Linked DNA regions of Homo sapiens: regions 2 and 3 are each linked to region 1. Evidence: promoter capture Hi-C in 16 types of primary human blood cells and fetal thymus (Javierre and others, 2016). All regions are on one chromosome and are shown on one strand. The core of a region is centred on a gene start or on the middle of the fragment in contact, and the rest is flanking DNA. Distances in the headings are between cores, read along the strand shown.

The links. The method cuts DNA at HindIII sites, captures the fragments that hold promoters and counts their contacts. A CHiCAGO score of 5 or more calls a contact.
Region 2: a contact is called between a fragment that was not itself captured here and the fragment with the promoter of VIT in region 1, in 2 of 17 cell types (M2 macrophages and endothelial precursors). The highest score is 7.0, in M2 macrophages.
Region 3: a contact is called between a fragment that was not itself captured here and the fragment with the promoter of VIT in region 1, in 1 of 17 cell types (M1 macrophages). The highest score is 5.8, in M1 macrophages.

What each region holds. Positions count from the first base shown.
Region 1 is chr2:36,695,397-36,698,068 of GRCh38, forward strand. It overlaps VIT (vitrin), which reads left to right and starts at 1,311. Exons shown (of 16, transcript NM_053276.4): 1 at 1,311-1,577. All of the region lies in intron 2 of LOC124905990 (a long non-coding RNA gene), which reads right to left. The HindIII fragment of the contact is 1,435 bases long and covers 233-1,667 here.
Region 2 is chr2:36,341,984-36,344,655 of GRCh38, forward strand. No RefSeq gene overlaps it. Among named protein-coding and RNA genes, the nearest start is that of CRIM1-DT, 12 kb to the right of the region's middle. The HindIII fragment of the contact is 699 bases long and covers 967-1,665 here.
Region 3 is chr2:36,363,806-36,366,477 of GRCh38, forward strand. All of the region lies in intron 1 of CRIM1 (cysteine rich transmembrane BMP regulator 1), which reads left to right. Among named protein-coding and RNA genes, the nearest start is that of CRIM1, 9.4 kb to the left of the region's middle. The HindIII fragment of the contact is 6,469 bases long and covers 1-2,672 here.

The DNA of each region.
Region 1 (2,672 bases), core at 61-2,560:
AATGGAGGAAGATTCCTGATCAGTGTACAGTGATGTATTTATTTAACAGTGACCTGTGCAGAAATTACATACTATCCATCTAGATAGCTTGCTACACTTCGCCTATTGATGGAATCATTCCATTTATCAAGTTTTATACATCAAAAAGCTTTGAATTTCATCAGGCTCTTCATTAATTCACCTCTGAAAAAGTGGCATTTAATTTCAGCTACCATGTTTTATAGCATTAAAAAGCTTATGCATCTCTGCACAATGGCATTGAGCAGATGAATCCCACCCAGATTCACATAGTCACATTTGAGAGCTTTAGACCAGAGAGCTGGGCCAAAGTTACTCCTAATCAACACAGACTTCTTACCGTGAGAGCCTATCTTCTCGGCCACATTTTATATAGCCAATGAAGACGTGCCAGCAATCATCCCATGTATAACTTGGCATTAGAGCACAAGATCTGTCAAACAATTATCTTAAATAAGGAGCAGTTCCAGGGCCAACAGATGAGGACAGGAGGCTTCTCGAATGGAAGAAGGTTCTCCTCCCTAGCTGCGTGAGTGCACACTCCCCAGCAGGAGGAGGAATGACTCTTTGCTACCTTCTCCTGTGCTTGAAAACAGATGCTCTGCCACACTGATGGACACTGGAATCTCAAGATCTGCCAGATGTACTTTTTTTTGGTCTGATTTTTTTTTAATGATGTGATACGTTAATACACATTTTGAATCTGAATCTCTTAGATTTCATTGATGACACTAATATATAAATAACTAAAACTGGCAGATTTCATGTGAGATTATTCATCAGTATTTTTTTTGAAACATGAGTCAGGTTTTGCTTCCCACTATGATTATCTTGTGTCCTGTAACTACCAGCATATAATTGAGTCATTTCATAAAACTTGCCAAAACGCAGAAAGGACTGAAGCAAAACAAAACAAAAAAATAGCATTAATATGTAGGAAAAAGTACATATTTTCAATTCAAAAGTGGGAGTCCAGTAGAATAAGTTTGAGAGTGTTTGCACAGTTTTCCTTCTTTGTGCAGTTCAGTCCAGCTGTTCACTAGCTTTTGAAAAAGAAAGAAAAAATTGAATTGCCCCTGCTGAAGTAATTTTTAAAACATATCTTTTACTTTCCATTTTTATCTAAGTGGTCCTCCTCTACTTTTTAGAATGTCAAATTGTAGAATTTGCTTACTGAAAGTTTGTGCTTTGGGCTACAAAAGAATATTTAGAAATCCTTACAAAAAAAAAAAAAAAAAAAAGCAGTGGGAGTGGAAATTTGAAAGAGGACCGCCTAATTCAGCACTAAAACCAGTGTGAGAAGCAGTATGTGTGAGCATGTGTGTGTGTGTATGTGTGTGGGGGGGGGTGTAAAATGTGTTTTTCAAAGTACTGAGAGGTTGATGGGACTGTTCGATTAGCTCCTCTGAGAAGAAGAGAAAAGGTTCTTGGACCTCTCCCTGTTTCTTCCTTAGAATAATTTGGATGGGATTTGTGATGCAGGAAAGCCTAAGGGAAAAAGAATATTCATTCTGTGTGGTGAAAATTTTTTGAAAAAAAAATTGCCTTCTTCAAACAAGGTATGTCTGATGAATTTCTAAGCTGTGTATATAGTTACTTTCCATTCATTATCATTGAAACGTATTTGTCTTTAAGAAACTACAATACAAAGCTTGACCGAGTAAGCAAATTTCAGTTTCAAGAGAGTTGAGATGAAAGTGGATGGTACTTGGCATCCTTGTAAACAACTAGTAATATACATATATATTTATCAATTATAAATAAACTGCATTGATATTAATATTATAACAAGATTTTTACTGTTCCTTTAAACCAATTTAATTATGGTTACAAATAAGTTGAAAAGTATGACATTTGTGTAGAATTTTAAAGTAATTTAAGTCTCTATTATCTTGCTTTTTTAAAAACTTTGCTTGGAATATGTGGAATGTAATAGCAATATAGCAAATTGCTTATAAAGATTGTGAATGGCAGTATGAGAAATGGGCACATTGGTGCTAACTTAAAAGAGAAACTATTTCGTGTGGATCTCTACTTCTCTCTATTCAGACAGATTTCAGTGGAATGTGGCTAGATGTGCGATTCTGTGTCTTGTTTACACTTAAAGTGTTTTCTTAGGCTGAATGCTTCTGTTACTGATAAGCCCAACAAGGGGCTGGCATTGTTAAGTCTGCCATCGTAGCTCAGCTTTTCACAGGAAGACAGGATATGAAATCTCTTTTAAGTATGATTTGTGTCCAACTAGTATAAACATGAAATAAACGCCTCAAGCACAGGTTAAAGAGAGAGGATAAGACTGAATAATTAGACATGACAGTTTTCTCCAAACAACCCACAGCATCTTTGCCATTCCTAAATCAAGAGTGGAATTAAAAATTTTCTTTGGACTTATTGTAAAAATAAAAACAAGCATTCTTGGCCGTGGTGGTTGCTCAAAATTGCGTGTGCTAAGAAAATAGTATTTTGCCGTTACGTTGTGTTGCAATAAATTTGGAAGTTTTGGTGGTAAAGTTCTGAGGTTGTTTTTCCCTTGGTCTCTTGAAAGATGAAAACACCCTGCAGCAAAGCAGGATCAAACACTGTTTGTTTGTGTATTTTCTCTCTATGTGTGTTAGCTGCAAGTGGTAGCTAGTGCTGGTAGGAGAGCTGGAAGT
Region 2 (2,672 bases), core at 66-2,565, 350 kb before region 1:
ATCTTCAAATCCTGAGCCTCCCACATATAATCTAGGTTATCTAAGACATATTATTTAACTACGCTGTGCCTAAGTTTCCACATCTTTAAAATGAAGATAATAATAGTCCCTCTTGCATAGAGTTGTTGGAGAATTAAATGAAAGGATGCACATAAAGCATGTAGAAAAGAGTTGGGAGCAATTCAAGTGCTCAGTAAATATTAAATTGGAATATTTTAGATTCATGATCTGTTCACATTTAGACCACCAAGTGTACTTTAAGGCACTTTCTTTCTTTTTATTTTATTTTGTTTGTTTGTTTGTTTGTTTGTTTATTTATTTATTTATTTATTTGAGGCAGAGTTTCGCTCTTGTTGCCCAGGCTGGAGTGCAATGGTGCCATCTCATCTCACTGCAACCTCTACCTCCCGGGTTCAAGTGATTCTCCTGCCTCAGCCTCCTGAGTAGTTGGGATTACAGACATGTGCCACCACACACAGCTAATTTTGTATTTTTAGTAGAGACAGGGTTTCACCTTGTTGGCCAGGCTGGTTTCGAACTCCTGACCTCAGGTGATCCACCCCCTTCAGCCTCCCAAAGTGCTGGGATTACAGGCGTGAATCGCTGCACCCAACCTAAGGCCCTTTTTTTTTTTTTTTTTTGAGACGGAGTCTCGCTGTCGCCCAGGCTGGAGTGCAGTGGCGTGATCTCGGCTCACTGCAAGCTCCGCCTCCGGGGTTCACGCCATTCTCTTGCCTCAGCCTCCCGAGCAGCTGGGACTACAGGCGCTCGCCACCTTGCCCGGCTTATTTTTTGTATTCTCAGTAGAGACGGGGTTTCACCGTGTTAGCCAGGATGGTCTCGATCTCCTGACCTCGTGATCTGCCCGCCTCGGCCTCCCAAAGTGCTGGGATTACAGGCGTGAGCCACCGCGCCTGGCCCTAAGGCACTTTTAAAATGAGTGTTTTACTGCTCTACTTGCAGATAAGCTTCCCTGATGATATGCTTAGACTCCCACAATTTTATTTTAGGAACTTAAAAAAAAAAGTTTATAATGAGAAACAAACCAAAAGGAACTCTCCCTTTACTCCTTTGGTGGCTTTCAGAATGTAACAAGAAGAAAGATGTTTACATCTTTGCACAGTTCTTTTTTTAAATTTTTATTTTTTTTATAATTTCAACTTTTATTTTAGATTCAGGGGGTACATGTGCAGGTTTGTTACAAGGATATATTGCATTTGCACAGTTCTGACACTGACAAATGCAGTATCTGCATCACCTAGACAGGTTTTAGATAGCTGAGGAACAGGACAATGATGAAATCAATTTATCACTTTAGGCCAGTTTGTCTCATTTCCCTGGCCATTTCAGCATTTAAGAAGACAAGGAGATGGGAAAGACCTAGAAGCTCTATTGGTCAGTAGGCCTTAGGTGAACTCATGGTTCTGAATAAGGTAAATGGCCACCACCCAAAGCAGCAAGTAAGGACATGGAAGTACCATACAACCTAGCAGGATGTTCTAATGTGGAATACGATAAACAGACCAGATTCAGTGTACAATGAGTTGGTTCTAGATTGAGAGCACTACCGTGCCACAGTGAGGCACGAAGTCACCGAGTCCCAGATCTGAATCCTAACCCAGGCGCATGCATTATGTCCTCAGAATATTTATGTAATTTCTGTGAAGCTTTTTTTCACAGTTCCCCATCTGTAAAAATCTGTCTGGTCACACCTTATGATGAGATTACTATGAGAGTTAAAAGAGAAGAGATATCCAAAGCATTTAGCATACAGTCAGTTTCATGTGCTCAATTAATGGTTGCTAGGAAGCAGAGGAGACAGTAAAAATATTTAAGAACTAAAATGCATGAGCACTGATTAATCAGAACGGATGCCTGACCAATGAGGTCAATTAGAAAGGATTCCCGGTGAATAAAAAAGTTGGCCCAACCAATAAGAAGGACCACAGCCCTGCATACCCTACTGGCACATACTATTTCTTAGAGAAAAGAAGGGGTTTTCATATTGACTAAGGATGCCAGAATTTGGGGCACAGAGAAAAAAGTAAATATCCAATAGAGCTACACCTGGCATGCCACATACAAAATCAGATGAAGGTAAAAAATAGTACTATGGCAGAGTTCTGTATTCTAGAGACTGCTACTCTGGTACCAGGCAAAGTGCCTCAAGGTAGGATGATAGTGTCTGGTGCACAGAAAGACAGGTGGTGCCCATCAGAAACTCAAGCACTAGGCAGGGCGCAGTGGCTCACACCTATAATCCCAGCACTTTGGGAGGCTGAGGTAGGCCGATTGCTTGAGCTCAGGAGTTCGAGACCAGCCTGGTCAACATGGTGAAACCCCACCTCTACAAAAAAATAGAAAAATTAGCCAGGCATGGCGGCACATGCTTGTAGTACCAGCTACTCAGGGGGCTAAGGTGGGAGGATCACCTGAGCCCTGTTGAGAGAAAGAGAGGAAAGAAAAGGAAGGAAGGGAAGGGAAGGAGGGAATGAGAGAGGGAGGGAGGGAGGAAGGAAGGAAGGAAGGAAGGAAGGAAGGAAGGAAGGAAGGAAGGAAGGAAGGAAGGAAGGAAGAATACGGAAGAGAGGAAAGGAAGGAAGAATGAAAGGAAGGATAAAAGGAAAGGAAAGGAGAGGGGAGCGGAGGGGAGGGAGGGGAGAAGGGAGGGG
Region 3 (2,672 bases), core at 101-2,600, 330 kb before region 1:
CTGCAGGATTTGGCCTGGCTTGAGCAAAGAAACAGCTCGACGCCATGGGGGCTATGGTTCCAACCTGCTGCTGCAGTTGGTATAAACTAGGCAAAACCAGAAGTCAGAGGATTATCCATTCCTCTTGTTCTTTTTCTAGCTCTACCTGTTCTTCTGCCATTCTTCTGCCTGAAAATATTCATGAGCATCGCCTATGGGTCTTGTCTCTGTGCTTTACAGTAGTGACATCACTTGTGTAAGCCAGTTTTTCTGTTAGTCGTCGGTACCTCCTAGGTTCGCTGTGGGGGTTAAGTGAGATAAAACTGTGCTTCTGAAATTTTAGTGTGCACACAAATCACCTAGGTATTTAAAATTGCAAGTCTGATTAAGTTAGTCTGGGGTGATGCCTGTGATTCTACATTTCTAACAAATTTCTGGCTGATGCCAGTGTCACAGGTGCCAGGACCACACTTTTAAGTAGCACAAAGCTAGTACCTATGTATACAGCATGTATCACAGAGTATGCATATTAAAAGACCTGATAAATGTTACCTGCTATTATAGTCATTATTTTTCAGCCAAAATAAATAAGATATGGTCCTTGTTTTCACACAGGCCATGATCTGATGGTAAACTGGAAAAGCAGACAATTCATTACAATCAGTTCAGTAAGCCATGAGATAACGGAAATGCCAAGCATGTCAGGAGCAAGTAAGAGGGAGTCTAACCCAAATCTGACCACCAGGAAAAGTTTAGTGGAGGATGCAGCAACAAGAAAGACCTGAGGGTCTCCTCTCCTCCCTCCTTTTTTCCTGCACTTCTTGTGCAGGATGTTTTAGGAAAAAGAAAATAGGGCTTGGGGCTAGACAAACCTGCATTGAAATCTTAAATCTGTTATTTTTTTAATCGTGAGATCAGCTTGTTTAGTTTCTCTGAGCTTCAGTTCCCTCATCTGTGAAACTGGAATATTAATAGCTTTCTATTAAGTAAATATTGTAGTGAGGATTAGAGATTTATATATATGATTACATAGATGTATATATAAGATTGTGTGTGTGTGTGTATAGTATGTATGTGTATATGCTAGTTTCTGGTACCAAATAGATTTTTTAAAATAATATTAATTTTAATTTCCATTCTATTTTCTATCCTTTCCCATTTTCCTCTTTGTTAGCTTTCTCTGTAAGTTTAAAAATTTACCTTGTGGGCACACATTTCCTCCAAACTTAACTAAATCTCTTCAAAGGGGTGGGAGTTTCGAGGGGGAATTCAAATGTCAGATGTTTGTCAAAGAGAAAAGAACCGTGAAGTACCGAGAACAGGGGGCTGGGAATACAGGGTCTATGCACCAAGGAAACATGCGTTGGTTTGATCCAGTGCAACTACAGTTCCCAGCGCCTTTGGCATTTCAGCAGAATGTGAACACTTGCTTGATTTTGTGGTTTGAGCCCCTACATCCAAAGAGCTATTTCAAATTAATATTTATTTAAAAATGGCCTTTTAATATTAATGGCATATGGTTTTATGACAGTGAATTAAATTTCCTTTTATTGTTAGAACTTTTTGAGGATTTCTGGACATCACTGGAGACGTTGGAGACCCCAAGGATATAGCCAGGCCAGGTTGATATATCTCACTGAGGTTACAGAAGGAAGCAGCGGCAAGCCTAGCCGATTCAGAGACCACTGCGGGCTTGGGAATGAGCAGGAGAGGGTGTGAGGGCCAGAGGCCATCTGTGTTGCTTTTCTCTCTCCCAGTCATTCTAGCCATCTTTGATGTGGACTAATAGTCGAGGTTGGCCATGGGTTTGCACTGTCTCTAGGGAGTCTTTGTGATATAGTGCGGGGTAGGAAGAACACCTAGAATCAAAATATCTAATGTTACTAGCTGTTTAGTTCTTAGTGTGGGTATGGTCCCATTTTAGGAGAACAGAACTATGAACTATGTTTGTGTTTTTTTTTTTTTTTTGAGACAGAGTCTCACTCTGTTGCCAGGCTGAAGTGCAGTGGCATGATCTCAGCTCACTGCAACCTCTGACTCCCTGGTTCAAGCGATTCTCCTGCCTCAGCCTCCTGAGTAGCTGGGATTACAGGCATGTGCCACCACGCCCAACTACTTTGTGTATTTTTAGTGGAGACCACGTTTCACCATGTTGGCCAGGATGGTCTCTCGACCTCGTGATCTGCCCACCTTGGCCTCCCAAAGTGCTGGGATTACAGGCGTGAGCCACCGCGCCCAGCCCAGAACTACATTTGCTTAACTGTGACTCTTTCCTTTGTACCTGAAAATAAGTATCATTTTTATCCAGTAAATATTGGCTGATAATTCATAAGGCAGATGCTTTAAATTGGCTATTGTAGAACAAGGAGAAAGAACTTGATGAAGAGAAAAATCCTTGGAATCAGTGGTTTACAACTTTTTTTTTCCTTCCTGATGATCAAACCGTATTATCGCATAGTAGAAATTGGATTTTCTTCCAGAAACTACTTTAGTACCTCTCATTTGTAGCACTTCTATCAAGAGTGCTGGTATTCGGACATGTAACCTACAAACAAAATCAGAAAGATGTCAAAATAACACCCTAATTCAGACTATCCTGAGAACATTTGTCTTCTGAATATTTAAGAAAAAAAAATAAGTGTTAATTATATTGTAGGGTGTTACCATTTTGTATTTCAAGTTCCTGAGAAGAG